Linked DNA regions of Homo sapiens: all the other regions are linked to region 1. Evidence: promoter capture Hi-C in human tissues and cell types (Jung and others, 2019). All regions are on one chromosome and are shown on one strand. Each heading gives the region's core, a stretch centred on a gene start or on the middle of the fragment in contact. The rest is flanking DNA. Distances are from core to core; before and after follow the strand shown.

Region 1 (2,905 bases), core at 387-2,886:
CCCCTCATATCCCCCAGCTCACCTCCTCCGAGTTGGGCCTGAGGCTCTGGGGATCCAGTGGGCCTACACCAGCAAGCACTGGCACCACGGTGGCCTTTTGCTGGGGAAGAGGGCAGGTGGTCAGGGAAGCATGGCCTTCGCTGGGTTTGAAGGCTGGGGAGGGGAGTGTGAGAGGAAGACCCCTTTGCCATGCATAGGCCTTTGGTAGTCATGTTCGGGTCCACCTGCCTGTGTCCTCCAGCCATGCTGACTGACTCAGGTCCCCTCAAATGCACTAGACCTGTTCCCTCTGCTTAGGACAATCTCCCACTTGGCATTCAAGCCTGGGTTCAATCCCTGCCTACCCCATGAAGCTTCCCTGACCCTAATCCACCAAACTGAGTGGAGCTGGCCCACCCCATCGCCCTGGGCCACCTCTACTCAGGACACCAGAGCCTCCCCAATCCCTTCCCGAGGGGGTGTGTGGGGTGGTGCATGTGACCAGGCAGGTTAGGGGCACCCTTCCACACTTTGTGCCCGTGGGGGTCCATGACCACTCTCCTGGTCCCTGGTAGCCCAGCTCCAGGGCAGGCACAGAGTGAGTGAATGGGGTGGGGTGGCCTCAGCCAAGTGGCTTACCGGATCATACACAGGCCGCAGCAGGCCCCACACGTGCTCCTCGGGCACTGCCAGGCCCAGCTCCTCCCGGGTTTCCCGCAGGGCCGTGTGCACCACATCTTGGTCAGCCGGGTCGCACTTGCCGCCTGGGAAACTAAACAGACACAAGGAGTCTGGTCCTTGGACTCTTGGGGCCACGGAGAGGTCGGGGTATCGGCAGTGCGGGGGGGGCCACTGGCCCACCGAAGTGTCGCCTGCCTCTGCCCCTAGTTTACTGGGAGGCCCCAGGCAAGCCATGCGACCTCTGGAGGCCAGTTTACCTCCCTGAGCAATGGGGATAAGGAAGAGAGGCCCGGGACAGCGCAGGATAAGAGGGTCTGCAGCAGGGGCAAGAAGATCCTGGGGCTCAGATACCCAAATTCGGCCTATGGTGGCCCCAGCAACACTGACATTGTCCTCAGGATGTTCTTAATTCCCGCCGGGCGGGGCCCGAACCTCTCCGTAGTCGCCGGCAGGGGGCGGCGTCCGCCCTCTAAGCGGGAAACAGCTCAAAGGGGTGTCCCGGCCCAGGCGTGCGCGCAAGGACGCGTACGAGGGGCCCACGCGGCGAGGACGTGGCGCCCCGGCAGGTGCACCGGGGCCGACGGACACGGATCGCTGACCTCTCGCTGCAGCCCTTGGGCGGAGGGACTCTCCCCAGACCCATTTTACGGAGGCGGAAACCGAGGCTCGAAGGGGCTAAGTGCCCTGCCAGAGGTCCCTGCCAGCCCCGGGCTCCTGTAGCCTCCGGCAAAGGGCGAGGAGTTCCCGGCCGCTGTACCTGACGTCGCCCTTGTGCCTCCCGGTCAGGCGGCTGGACCGCAGCGTGTACAGCAGCGCCGGGACCCCACGCACTGAGCAGAGCGGCACGAGCACCGCGGCCGACGCGGGCCGCGCGCGGAGCCGGGCCGTGGCCCCTGCCAGCAGCCGGCGGCAGCGCAGCTCGCCCTCGGCCGACAGGCAGTCGGGCAGCATGTCAAGTCCTGCGCGGCCGGGACACTGAGGGCGCGGGATCGGGCGAGGGAAGAGGCGGGGCGAGGCGGGGCGGGGCGCTCAGCCCGGGTCCCTCCGAAAGCTGAGAGGGAGAAGGGGCAGCCCGCGCGACGCGTCCCGCCTGGGGGGCTGCAGAGCGGCAGCGGCGTCGGGGGGCCTCAGTGGGGTGGGTCTGTTCGTGGGCGGGGCCTTCCCGGAGACGGGGCCTCGGTGGGACTGGGTCTGTTCGGGGGCGGGGCCTGTTTGAAGGCGGGTCCTCGGTGGGACGGGGTCCGTTAGGGGGCGGGGCCTGTTTGAAGGCGGGGCCTCGGTGGGACGCGTTGAGTCCCCCGGATGGGAGGGACGGAGGGCGGCGGGGCGGGGCGGGGCGGGGCCTGCGCGGGAGCCGGACTCGGACGTTACTGCCAAAGGGCGGCGGGGCCTAGTAGGCAATCGAGGTTGGGGCGGGCTGGGGGCGGGGCCTGGACCGGAGCTTTTGCTACGAAGGACTGGGGGGCGTGGCCAGGAGGACTGTGCTTCCGGCAGGGCCGGGCCGTGGCCGGGGGTGTGGCCGCGGGGAGGGAGATGGGCGCGGAGCTGCAGGACCTGCCGGTTGTGTTCTCCGAGATCCTGAAACCACGCGAACCGTGAAGCGCCCGGCGACCGTCCTCGGTCCCGTTGGGTCCTGGCGTTGGGGTGTCTGATGAGGCCCCGCCGGCCCCCACTGGTCCGTCCCTCCCCTAGGGGCTCCAGGATGTACGGAGCCGGGATCCCACGGGGACGCCCCTCCAGGAACCCGAGGTCGATCGGTGCGCGAGAGGAGCGTCCGGCCCAGCCCTCCCTCCGGTCCTCCCTCCCGATACCGCTGGGTGGCGCGCGCCGCCCCCAGTCTTGTCTTCCCCTCTGGCTCCGTCGGACTCCAGCCCCAGGCCTTTGACCTCCTTGTCCCAGCGTCCAGAGCTCTTCTCCCTTCCTGCCTTGAGTCTTGACCGGATTCCCAAATCCCTCCCCCTTTCCTACCTCGGCCCCTGTGGTCACTGACCACCGTGGTTCTGCGCCCTTCCACCAGACCCTGGGCTTGGGGACCAGATGACCCCAGCCTTGCGCACAGCATTTAAACGTGGGGTGGCGGGTGTCCGCCATGCTCTGCTGTGTGACGTTGAGCAGGTCCCGCGCCTCTCTGAGCGCCAGTTTCGATCCTCATCTGGGCAAGTGCAGCCCTGCCACTGGGCTGGAGTCACCACTTTTAATATTACTGTGTGCTCCCAGGGATGCGGACGGCACTGGGCAGAGCTTC
Region 2 (2,905 bases), core at 195-2,694, 340 kb after region 1:
CTGCAGCTTCACTTCTGAAGCCAGCAAGACCATAAACCCACCGGGAGAAGTGAACAACTCCAGACATGCAGCCTTAAGAGCTGTAACACTCACCGTGAAGGTCTGCAGCTTCACTCCTGAGCCAGCGAGACCACGAACCCCACCAGAAGGAAGAAGCTTCGAACATATCTGAACATCAGAAGGAACAAACTCCAGACACGCCACCTTTAAGAACTGTAACACTCACCAGGAGGGTCTGCGGCTCCATTCTTGAAGTCAGTGAGACCAAGAACCCACCAATTCCAGACACGTTTATAGACTTGGCACTGGGAGGTCTGCATGGAGCAAGTGAAGAAATCAGCAGAGTGAAGATAGAGGGAGAACAACATGATGGGGGAAAGGCAAAGTTACTGCCATGTTGGTTTCAATTCTGCCACTCATGAGTGAGACCCATGACCTCCTCTCTCTAGGACTCTGTTGTTCTTATCTGTAGAGTGGAGGAATAGAAGGGCCTTTTAAAGTATTAACATTTCCTGACCTATCTGTAAAACGCTTTCATTCAAACTGATGGGAATCTTGACTACTTTGCCAAGAGGACATAACAATCATCAAGCTGAATGCACCAAACAACATTGCCTGAAACTATCTAAGCAAAAACTGAGAAAGTTGCACAGGACAGACATACCTCCTATAAGAGGAAGAACTCTTTAGCACATGCTTAGTGTGTCAAAGACAATGCTGTGTTCACACCATTCCTCTTCCTGGACATGCAGAAAGACTACATTTCCCAGCCTTACTTGCAGTTAGTTTGGAACCATGTGACTGCATTTCCACCAATAGGAATGTAAGAAATCCCTTCAGGCCAAGGTTATCAAAGGCAAGTGTGAGCTATGTTCCCTCTCTTCCTATCCATATGGCTACAAGTGAAAAACTCTGAGATGGCAGAATTAAAAGATGGAAACCTCCAGAATCTCTGAATCACTGTTGGACAACGGCCCCCAAGGAGAACCCCTGCCCTGCACCAGACTATGCTATGGGTGCTAACCCACTGAGAGTTCAGGGTTTATTCATCTCAGCAGCAGTCTATTGTTAACACTGACTAACATCCTAAGGTTTGAGAGATCTAGCATATTGTTAATTGAAGCTAGATTTCAATTGCACTGAGAAACTTATCTATTTAAAAATAAAAACTCTCCTAAAAAAAACAAATAATCCACATTCCTTTTAACAACATGTGGCAAATTTGCAAAAAAAACCAAAAAAAAAGCAAAAAAACAAACAAACAAAAAAAACCAACTGGCCACATATTAGGCCATAAAGAAGTCTCAACAAAATCCACTATACGATTGACATTGTCCAGACCACATTTTCCTGACCATAATGCAACAAAATTAGAAGTCAACAGCAAGAAGATAGCTAAACACAAGCATGCATTAGGAAAATTAAAAATATCCTTTCATGAGTTAAATGAAAAATCTCAATAGAAATTACTAAACATTTACAACCGAACGAAAACACAACTTTTCATATATATATATATATATATATATATATATATATATATATATATATATGTATGTATGTATGTATTTTTTTTTTGTGAGTCTTCCAACTTTGTTCCTCTTTTACAAGTTTATTTGAGAAATTCCGGGTCTCCTGCAATTCCTCATACAGTTTTATGCTGTTTGTCATTTCTGTGGCTGGGATGAACTTATCGTAGTTCTCATAGACCAGGGTTTGCATGTCGCTGTCTAGAGCCCGGATCTGCTGCACCATGTCCGTCTCACTGTCCATCAGCTGGGCCAGAGGGGACTCTCTAGGCAGCTTGTCTAGGTAAACTTCCGGGTCAAAGTGTGCCCCGTTCAGATCAGTGGGGTCCAGGGGGTCGGGCCCTGCAGGGAGTCCCACCGCTTCCCCTTCTGAGAGGCCGTTGTAAAGCTTTAGCATCCTGTGCGCCTTCCGCCGACGCTCCGTGAGCCTCCACATCGGGGCCTTCTGGGGAGTCCCCAGGTCCACACCCCAGGCTAGGCCCAGTGACAGCTGCTGCCGCCATAGCTCCAACTGCAGCCCACGGGCGTAACTTTTTATATTTTTAAGTTGGATATATGGAGCTACTTGGCTTTTGCTTTCATCACATCGTTGAGGAAAGAGGTGGTTGCTTATGGTATCCCTGTTTTTACTGCAACCTGTAATGGATGAGAGCCTCCCTGTTGCAGAGAGCAAAACACTGAACTGAATTGTGCTATAACACAGCCCTGTGTTGGGGGATTGGGAGTGATCATGCAAACGCTTGCAAATTTGCACAGTGACAGAGACAATCGTTTGGGCAGCTGTTCACTACATGAAAAGGCAATTGACCAAAAGTCAGTTACTGAGCTATCTCAATACTTTCATTTTATTTTAACTTTTGGCAACAGGGTGCAATTAAAGGAGAGAAAGAAAACAAAGTGATAAGTGTAAGATAATGTACACACATGTGTAAAAGAAAATGACAAGACAGGGTGACTCTTTGTCTCTTGGTTAGCTCCTTGGGCTCTATGTCTCCTTCCTCAGAGAACCTCGTTTTCCTTTGTCCAGATTTGTTAGGGTGGATAATCCAGGCACCTGCTCCCCCATGATGGAAGCCAAAGACGTCCCTGGAGCCGCCTCCCGCTGCACCCTTTGCTGCACTGCCCACATGGACACAACTCAGCCGATTAGACTTCCTCTCAGAACTTTAGTCTTGAGCAAAGGGATTAAAGGGTGAAGTGACTGAAGGTATGCCCTTCCAAAGTAGTACGTGAGCTAATGGCTAAAGTTTGTCAAGCCCATCCAAGCACATTTTTTCGTAATTTTTATTTATTTATTTTTTTAAGACAGAGTCTTGCTCTGTTGCCCAGGCTGGAGTGCAGTGGTGTGATCTCGGTTTACTGCAACCTCTGTCTCC
Region 3 (2,905 bases), core at 119-2,618, 260 kb before region 1:
CCTCCACCCGCCCGTCTCCCCTCCTCTCCTGGTAGCCCCTCACACCCCGGGGGGAGGGCCAGGCTGGGAGCTGGGGGAACAGGGGTCCTCTGGGATTGGGAGGGTCTGTGGGGAGGGCTCCAGAAGCCCAGCACGGAGTTGTGGAAAGGAAGGCGGGTGGGGAGAGCAAGCATGAGGGGACCTCTGGCGAGCCCCGGGGACTCTTTCGAAGGTTTCCTTCGAGGGGCTCGGCCGGGAAGCTGCACGGCGGCGGTTGCCAGCTGGCCCTCCCTGCTGGCGGTGACCTCTCGCTCTGGGACCCCTCCCGGCGCTGCGCCTTCCCCCTGTGTGGCCTCGGCGCCCCCGGCCCCGCCCCCTCCCGCTCCCGCCCGGTCGCTCCTTCCCCGCGGCGGGGGCGGGGGCGGGGGCGGGGGCGGGGTCCGGGGCACCGGGCTCCGGGCTCTGCCCGGCGCTGCCCTTTCCCGCGCGTCAACTCCCCTCCTGCCCGGGCTGAGCGGCTGCTCCCGCCGCTCCCTGGCCAGTGACAGACTTTTTCCTGCCGGGTCCGGCCCGGCTGCGCCAGCCCCCCGCCAAACAATAATCACTCCCAGGCCACGGTGGCCCGGGGGACTCGCGGCCGCCGCCCGCCGCCCCTACCTGCCGCCGGCTCCCCGGCCGTGGGCACCATGGAGGGTTCCGGCCGCGCGGCGCGTAGCTAGGAAGCCGCGAGTCCCGCGGCGCGGCTCGGCCCGTCCGGCCCGGCCCAGCCAGGCTCGGCGCTGCCCTCCGCCCTCCTCTCCGCCGCCCGCCCTTCCTCCCGCCCGCCCTCCTACCCCTCCCGGCGGGCCGGGGAGGGAGAGCGGCGCGGCCCGAGGTGTCGGCCTCCCCTCGCCTCCCGCCGCCCGGCCTCGGGCTCCCCCGGCCTCCCTCCCTCTTCCTCTCCCAGCCCCTCCTCCCACCCGCAGCCTCGCTCCCCGCCTCGGACTCTCTGGCCCCGACTGGTGCGCGGGGCTCTGGGGCTGCGGCTCCTACGGCCCGCCTCGCTGGGGCTCCAGGTTGCCGCCTCCCCAGGTCTGCGATCGTCCGGGCTCCCCGCCGCTCCCGGCCACCTCCTGGCCCCGCCGTGCGGACTCCAGGAATGCCGCGTCCCCGCCCGGCCCCTCTCGAGGGCGCCCAGCCGTGCCTCCCCCGGCCCGAGCCCAGCTCCCTGGCCCGGCCCCGGCGCGGGGCTCCCGGGGGTCAGGGCAGGACGGGAACCGGATCTCGTGGCTGCTTGGCGGGGCGGGGGTCGGGGCCTCGGCCGCCTGGCTCCTACCTGCTCGGAGGTCCATGGGGCTGGGGCCGGGCCGGCCGGGTGCGGCTCCTCTCCCGGAGGCTGGCGGAGTGGGAGGGCGAGCCGCGGCTCCGGCGAAGCTTTAATAATCCCATCCGCCAGGCCCACTCGCAGGTTTTTTTCGCTCGGTTTCGGATTTTTTTTTTTTTTCGGTGTGGGACATTCTGCAAACTTTTTTTTTTTTTTTCTGACGTGTAAAGCTGTAACCACAAATTGTAGCGGCCCTCCCCGGGGTGGGGGTAGGAGGGGGGAGGAGGGAAGGGAGGGCTTCTGGGGCTCCCTCTCCCTCCCACAGCACCGAGGGGGGGTGAGGTGAGGCGAGGCTGTGGCGGTACCACCCTGGGCCTCCTGGGGGAGGGGGCGGGGAGGCCATCAGTCCGTCTGAGGACTCCCAGGAGCCGGGGGACAGCGCCGGCTTCGGGTGGGCTTCTCCCCAGGCGTTGGCCTGGGACACCGCCCCCTGCCCCCTGTCCCCTGCCGATGCGGGGTCCCTGATCCAACCTACCTCTGCCTGTGCGAGGTCCCTGCTCCCACCCTACCTCTGCCTCCTCATCTCTAACCTTCCCTCCTCCTCCCCCTTGAGTAAATGCAATGACACATTCTCCCAAATGCCAGCGAGCTGGCCTGGGAGCAAGTGATGGTGTTTTTCCTGCTGCCCTTTGTCTGGGCTGACCGCCCCCCCTGCCTATTGTCCCGCCGCTTGTCCCATTTCCAAAAGCTAGAGCTAAGCGAGGCGCTGGGGCTGGGGCAGGTGACTAACCAGCTCACAATGCCCCCTGCGGGGGAGGAAGAGGGCACTGCAGGCCCACTGCCCGGCCCAGAGGCGAGAAGAGGCCACTTGGCGGGACTTTTTCCCTCAAGTTCACAAGGTTCTTCATTCTTCCTCCAGTGACCAGGGAGAATGTACATGGGTGGGGGATTTGTAATTCATTAATCAGCACGAGGCAACGGACCAGTTTCAACACCACAGGCTTCTTGGGTGACTCAGCGGGAATGCTCCGATTCAAGGCGATGGACCGCCCGAGCGTCCCCATTTGTGAAATGTTTCCCCATGAAGACCCTGGCATTCTCCTTCCTTTGGGGTTTCGGGTTGTTGGTTTTTCCGGTGGTGAGGTGGGGGTGGCTTAGCGGTGAGGGCTCCCCCTCCTTCCCGCAGGCCTGGGTTGGGATTTGCTGGGCAGGATACCTGGGGGTATGCCTGGACCCTCCCAGAGGGGGTCCCCTCCTCCCTCTCCAAGGGCTGCCGGGGAGAACACGCTCAGAGGAGGCAGCTCTAACCCAGGGCTGGGGACTGCCCTGCTTCATGATTTTCCTGGGGGAGAGTCATGTGGTCCCCAAGGCTTGGGTGCCCTATAGCCACACCACCAATTAAATCACTGGGTAATAAGTTGCTTTTGTTGTTGTTTATTTATTGTTTCAAAGTGGGAGAGGCCAGTGGTGGGCCAGACCTGGAAGGTGATGCCTCTCCCTGGAGTGGCATCAGAGATTTGTCTCCCACTCCTTCCTGGTGCCCCTGGAATGGGAGGGCACTCTGCCAGTCCAGCCCCAGCGCCTCCAACCTGTGGCCTGGGCAGGCATCCTGATCATGGCCAG

What was found. Contacts are between HindIII fragments. The study calls those that stand out against the background at their distance.
Region 2: a fragment that was not itself captured here is called in contact with the fragment with the promoter of NUDT8 in region 1 in 5 of the 25 tissues and cell types used here (H1 embryonic stem cells, heart right ventricle, liver and 2 more).
Region 3: a contact is called between the fragment with the promoter of CLCF1 here and the fragment with the promoter of NUDT8 in region 1, in 1 of the 25 tissues and cell types used here (heart left ventricle).

The regions. Positions count from the first base shown.
Region 1 is chr11:67,628,301-67,631,205 of GRCh38, forward strand. It overlaps NUDT8 (nudix hydrolase 8), which reads right to left and starts at 1,637. Exons shown (of 4, transcript NM_001243750.2): 1 at 1,418-1,637; 2 at 619-751; 3 at 23-100. The coding sequence starts at 1,611. RefSeq lists silencers at 178-472, 1,040-1,189, 1,480-2,269, 2,390-2,559. The HindIII fragment of the contact is 11,433 bases long and covers 1-2,905 here.
Region 2 is chr11:67,964,196-67,967,100 of GRCh38, forward strand. It overlaps LOC112268076 (translation initiation factor IF-2-like), which reads right to left and starts at 1,965. Exons shown (of 4, transcript XM_047427952.1): 1 at 1,652-1,965; 2 at 277-314. The coding sequence starts at 1,965. The HindIII fragment of the contact is 4,449 bases long and covers 1-2,905 here.
Region 3 is chr11:67,372,230-67,375,134 of GRCh38, forward strand. CLCF1 (cardiotrophin like cytokine factor 1) reads right to left here and starts at 1,369. Exons shown (of 3, transcript NM_013246.3): 1 at 1,295-1,369. The coding sequence starts at 1,310. The region is part of intron 2 of LOC100130987 (a long non-coding RNA gene); the gene reads left to right. RefSeq lists silencers at 758-1,097, 1,658-1,707. The HindIII fragment of the contact is 15,975 bases long and covers 1-2,905 here.